Linked DNA regions of Homo sapiens: region 2 is linked to region 1. Evidence: promoter capture Hi-C in human tissues and cell types (Jung and others, 2019). All regions are on one chromosome and are shown on one strand. Each heading gives the region's core, a stretch centred on a gene start or on the middle of the fragment in contact. The rest is flanking DNA. Distances are from core to core; before and after follow the strand shown. Region 1 holds the start of CNRIP1 (cannabinoid receptor interacting protein 1). Region 2 overlaps PPP3R1 (protein phosphatase 3 regulatory subunit B, alpha).

Region 1 (3,151 bases), core at 243-2,742:
AGGTCTACTGGGTGCATTATCCAGCGGTCGCTGGCAAGAAATCGTCCCTGCCATGGATAAACCAAAAAACATCCTCTTGCTGTGGGGATGTTGCTAATCCCAGGCACCATCACCAGCCTGAACAGAAAACTCAGGAGAAAAAGAACAGCATACGGCATGGAAAACCGTGAAACTAGGCCAGAGAAGGGGCGGCCGCTCTCTTACTAGTGTCTGCTGCTCCACCCCAGGGTCCCAGCCACTGAATGGCGAAGGGAGTGGGGAGCATCCCTCAGGGAGCCCCAGTAATCACCCCTCCCCTGCCTTTCCACCTCATTCCTCCTTTCTCCCTCCTTCAGCCTTGCGGGCAGACCCTGTGGGCCGCCTGGACCGCGCGCAGGAGGGCTGGGATTGCGGTGGCTGAACCCTGCGGACCTCTCCCATCTGCTCCACCCCGACCGCCTGCGGTTCCGCGCCCAAGGCTGGACAGAAGGCAGGAGAAATTTATAAGAAACAGACAAGCAAAAACCCTGGCTTCTTGTCACTGATTTTAAAGAACCCACTGAGGTCACTGCGATGGGTGGAGGGAAGCGAGAATGGAGGAATACAAGCCAAAGGGAAGGAAGGGGACGAAGGCGGACAGGGAGTGACCTCTTCCTCCAACCCCCGGGCCCGCTGGGAGCGGCGCGAGGCCAGAGGCCCTTGAGAGGCTCGGGCTGTCCTGGGGGCCTCAGTCCTCTGCCTGTACCCCATGGGGGACCCTGCTGCCACCAGGCGCCCCGCACTCACTCGACCTGCAGCGTGCTGGGTTTAATCTTCACCTCAACCTTGTAGGAGGAGCCGGTGAGCAGCTTGATGGTGCGGTTCTGGCCGAAGCGCTGCCCGTCCACCTTGTAAAAGACCGGGCCGTCATTAGGCTGGATGCGCAGCGCGATGGAGAGGCGCACGAGGCCCGGCAGGTCCCCCATGTCTGGGCGAGGGTCTGGCGCGGCGGCTCCGGGGGGCGGAGGACAGCGCCGGCTGCGGCCGAGTGGCTGGAGCGCGAGGGGCGGAGAGGAAGCGCGGGGAGGGTGAGGGAGGTGGTGGAGCTGAGGCTGCCGCTAGGAACCCGCGCCGTCGCCGCCGTCCGCCCGGGCTTTTGAGGAGCAGCTCCTTAGGCTGTGGCCCCCCTCCCCACTCGGCGAGGAAGCGGGCCCAAGAGACGGCTCCAAGGCCGCGCGCTTCCCCATCCCCCGCTCCAGTGCTGCGCCCTCCACGCACCCGAAGGCTCGCTCTGGCCCGCAGGCCGCCGCGCAGATCCGCGCAGCTGGGGGCGAGGGAGTTAATCCTGTTTACGCACCACAATCCCCTTCAGCTGGGGAAGCGGACATTTAGGCTCCTCCTAGAACAGCCCCGGGCAGGAGGAGGAGAGGTTTGGGAGGCACTGGGAAGGCGCTGGAGTTAAGCGACCACTATGCCAAGGAGCGAGACCCCCGGAATCTGGATACCGCCTCGGCCAGCTACGTGAGGTGGACACTGCTGCTCGCGGATCCGGCGCCAGCCAGGCGGGAGGAGGCTGAGGGGGGGTAAAGGGAGGCGGGAAGGGGGGACAGGAAACCGCTAGCCGGTGATTTAAATTTCAGGAAATATGAGTCTTTCCAAAGCTTAGGGGAAATGGCCGAGGAAAGGCGCAATTCCACGTGATGGAGCCACGCTGGATGAGGAATGGATGCAAGAGGAAGAAAATAACCATATTCAAGGAGCTACATCTTCTTGTGGGTGTACATTTCCATTATACGTATGCTCGTCCCAAAAATGACACATACATAAATATATGTAATGAATCACATATATTTACACAGATTTTGAAGGGTGAGCTATTAACCCTGTAAAAGGCAACTGACATGAGCCTAAGGCATTCTGGTGACAAAATGGCCAAGAGGTGGGATGGGTCAAAGGATTATTGGCAGGGGGCCATATGCGACACCGCAGAGTTTAGATTTGCATATTAAGCGTGATTAGACAGTTTTCGTGGCAGAGGTCGGTAGACAGCTGACTTTTGGAAGCGAGGGGAGACTCAGGGGGTGAGGACTATACTGGGAATGGCTTCCCGGAGCAGAGAGAGCACCTGCTTCAGCACCACCCAGATGGATAGTACCAGAGCCAGGGAGCACACCTGGGAAATGAAGTGGGCTAGTGAGAACAAATGGGTAGGGATGCGTTTCCTTGGCAGTTTTTGTTTACCCAAGTTAGACTGCTCTTTTTTAAGAAATAATAAGCTATACATATAATATATATGTAATATGGGTGTTTATTGCAACATTGGTTGCAAAAATAAAAATAAAACCTAAATGAAATGTTAACCAATAAATAAATGGCTGAATAAATTCTTATATACCCACACTATAGAACGTTACACAACTATCAAAATAATGAAATATAGGTTGCATTGGCAAACACACAGGCAAAAACTGTTAATGATAAAAGTGGGATGGCTGGGAAACAAAGCCTGAGGGCGAGCATTTTGTCTGTTTTGTTTGTTGCTGTTTCCCCAGCATGCCAAAATAGTGCCTGACACATAGTAGGTGCTCCAGAAATCGTTGTTGAATTGACTTACGGTTGTGGTCTTAATCATGTCCATATGTAAATTCTTTCACATCTTTAAAATTAATTAGATCCTTGCGATTTACCTGGAATGATGAAAAGAAATCTAATTGCAAGTAGCATCTCTAGTGTTTTAGAAAAATGAAAATTTAAAAAGAATATAAATGTGTATGTTTGTATTAGCTCTTTTAAAAGAATGAGAGAGTTACACAGTAAACTTAATGTTGGTTATTATGGTTTATGAGTAGTGGAAAGAGGGTGAGTATCTTTTTGGGGTCATTTAAAAGCCTTTTTGGAAATTTTGCCTTTTTTCCTCAACCTTTTGTTTAGCAACCCCACAATCTCAAGCCAACTTCCACCTGTGTATCAAAAAGAGCATTGGACCTGGAGGATGATGACTCCATTTTAAAACCTGGTTCTAAGGCCGGCATGGTGGCTCATGCCTGGAATCCCAGCACTTTGGGAGACCAAGGAGGGCAGATCATTTGAGGCCAGGAGTTCAAGACCAGCCTCGCCAAAATGGCAAAACCTGTCTCTACTAAAAATACAAAAAATTAGCCAGGCGTGGTGGCGCATGCCTGTAGTCCCAGCT
Region 2 (3,248 bases), core at 217-2,716, 84 kb before region 1:
CATTTTCAATAATTATAATTGAGAAAGTAATCTCAAAACAAGAAATAAAGTCCTAGCAATGGGACAGTTCAGATAATGATAAGATACCATATTGACTATGGCCATAGGAAATAGCTGAAGTAGAGAGAAAACTAAAGGTTAGTAAAATGGAGGTGGTCAACAAACACTAAGGCTAGAATGTCCATAAAGATGTAACCTGATGGTGGAACACAGAGGGAAAATGTGAGACAAGTACTTAAATTTTGAATGAAAAATTGAGTAACGAGAAAGATTTGAGTTAGCAATGAGAACAGATAAAGAATGGCTTAGCAGGAAAATGAAGAATAATCTATTATGGGTCAGCAAGCTTTGGCTTGCTGGTCAATAAGCCTACCACCTGTTTTGTTTTATTACCGCTTTATTGAAATATAATTTATATACCACACAAACCATCCATCTAAAGTATACAACTCAATGGTTTTAGTACATTCAAACCATTGTGCAGCCATCACCACAATCAAATTTAGAGCATATTTATTACCCACAAAAGCCTGTATCTACTGGCAGTCATTCCCCAACTCCCCCTCAGGCCAGCCCTAAGTAATCACAAATCTACTTTCTGGCTCTACATATTTGCCTATTCTGGATATTAAATACAAATGAAATTATACAATATATGATCCTGTATGACTGGCTACTTAGTCGAGTATTTTCAAGGTTAATCTAATGTGTTGTAACAAGTATCAACACACTTCTTTTTACTAATGAACATTTCATTCGTATGAACATACCATATTTATCGATTCATCAGTTAATAAACATTTGGACTGTTTCCATTTTTGGCCATTATGAATAATGTTATTATGAACATTCATGTCCAAGTTTTTCACTTCATTTCACATGTTTCATTTCTTTTAGGTATATACCCAGGAATGGAATTACTAGGTCATATGGTAACTCTATGTTTGACATTTTGAGGAATTATTTTCTAATGCAGTTATAAACATTTACATTCCCACCAGCAAGGTTTGAGGGTTCCAGTTTCTCCACATCCTTGACAATACTTATCAGTCTTTTTTGATTATAACAATCCTAGTGGGTGTGAAGTGCTATCTCGACATTTTGATTTGCAATTCTCTAATGACTAATGATGTTGAGCATCTTTGCATGCACTACTGACATCTTCATATCTTCTCTGGAGAAATACCTACTCAGAACCTTTGCCCACTTTTAAATTGAGTTGTCTTTTTATTGCTGAGTTATAAGAATTGTTTATATATCCTGAATAGAAATTTCTTATCAGATAACGATTTTGAGAAACTCCCCCTTTCTGAGAATTGTCTTATTTTCTTGTCTTTTGAAGCTTAGATTTGTTAATTTTGATGATATACAATTTACCTTTTTTTTCTTTCATTGCTTGTGGTTTTGGTATCATATATATTAAGAAACTATGTGAACATGCGTTTGTAAAGTTTTATTGGCATACTGCCACACTCATTCATTTATGTACTGTCTATAGCTGCTTCACACTACAATGGCAGAGTTGAAATGGTGCAACAGACTGTATGGCTCCCAAGCCTCAAATATTTATTATCTGGTCCTTTGCAGAAAGAGTTTTCCAACTCATGATCTAAAACAATGCCAACAACTCCTAATTACCCCTAACCTAAAATGAACAGCTATGCTCCGCTTGAAAGAGCTTCGGGGAGACGATAACCTTCAGAGAGGAAGTAGAATTTTGGTTACAGTAACTAGACAAAATTTTTGGTGAGGAGAATGACAACATGAGGGGATAGCTATGTACTGGTGAGGGAAGAGGTCAGTATAACATCAGAAGCCAGATACAGCTTTTACTATTTAAGATCCCATCAGTAATCTGGGACCATTATTCAGAGTACCTAATAAAATACTGATGAGGTTGTTTTTACTATCATATGGCCTAGACTCTGGTGATGGAAAGTAACCTAGGGCCAGGTTATAAAAACTTAAATGCCAGAGTAAGGAATGTGGCCTTTTTCTAGTATGCAAGAGCCATTGAGATACAATGAGACCTAAGGAAAAACCTCCTATGAGACTTTTAAGGAAGTTTTGCTCCCTAATAAGTACTTAAAGAAGCATTCCCTGCTCTTCTTTGGCCAGATGTTGGTATCTAAAATTGGGGCAGCCCTCTGCTGACATGCAGAGGAGCTTTAAAGTAAGCAAGTCTTATGTTCTTGATGAAACTGAACTGCTGAACCAACCCTGTAACTCTCTGGCTCTGAGCTTCTCATTCTGTGAAATAACAAACTGCTTATTATTTAAGTCACTTTTAGTTAGGTATTGTTACTTGTAGCCAAAAATATCCTGAAACATTCTTGACTCTGTTAATCACTACATTTCTGAATAGTGGGCTGCAAAGAAATTAGGATTATGAAACCTAGACCTGCCAAGAATACTACATACTGGTTTCCAGTAGTTCAATTGATTCCTTAAAAAATGTAAAAAGCATTTTACAATTTATCAAACATCTTAAATAATTACCTACGCCAATACTCAGAAGAACTGTGAATCAGGCAATCTTGTGGTGGTTATTTTACAAATATAACTTTTTTTTAATTTAGAGTACTCCAAAACAGGCCTTCCAATTCCATAGCCCAATCTTGCTCTACCATATCATGTTACTTCTCATAATATCAAATTAAATTTACTGATAAGCAATGTAATCAACAAAAAAATTATAGTATTCTTTCAGCACTTGAACAATTACTTGACATTATACAACTCTATGAGTAATGTGACGAGAATGAATAATAAAATACCAAAACAGCTGCTACATGTTAAGTTCAAACTGGACAAGCAGAGTAGCCAGAAGAAATCTAGCACTTCATAGTAGCGCTACTGAAGCACTTACTATAATATTTCCCTCCACAGTTTCTGGGGCTGTATCTTTTTTTCATTCATCTTTATACCTGAAACTATGTTTGATATATCTAGTAAGTGAACATTAAATGTTTGCTAAGTGAAGGATATCAAAGATGTAGACTTGCACTAACACTTTATTAGCTGTTCTAGAATCTCCAGAACAGCAACAAAAAAAGGTTACAATAAATCAGCTTAGGTAAACAAAGGTAAACACTGTTCATAAATTTTGAGTTTCCTTTATTTATGAAAATGTTTACTTATTGAAAGTAACAACCTGACATATAAGTCTCTACTCAGATATGTAACAAGAATTTTGAAGCATAAAAGATCTCTTTTACAATCAATAGCAGTTTCCTTTCTGGTAGCTC

Evidence for each region. Contacts are between HindIII fragments. The study calls those that stand out against the background at their distance.
Region 2: a fragment that was not itself captured here is called in contact with the fragment with the promoter of CNRIP1 in region 1 in 2 of the 25 tissues and cell types used here (hippocampus and psoas muscle).

What each region holds. Positions count from the first base shown.
Region 1 is chr2:68,318,457-68,321,607 of GRCh38, forward strand. It overlaps CNRIP1 (cannabinoid receptor interacting protein 1), which reads right to left and starts at 1,493. Exons shown (of 3, transcript NM_015463.3): 1 at 766-1,493. The coding sequence starts at 944. The HindIII fragment of the contact is 12,504 bases long and covers 1-3,151 here.
Region 2 is chr2:68,234,813-68,238,060 of GRCh38, forward strand. The region is part of intron 1 of PPP3R1 (protein phosphatase 3 regulatory subunit B, alpha); the gene reads right to left. Among named protein-coding and RNA genes, the nearest start is that of PPP3R1-AS1, 15 kb to the right of the region's middle. The HindIII fragment of the contact is 7,084 bases long and covers 1-3,248 here.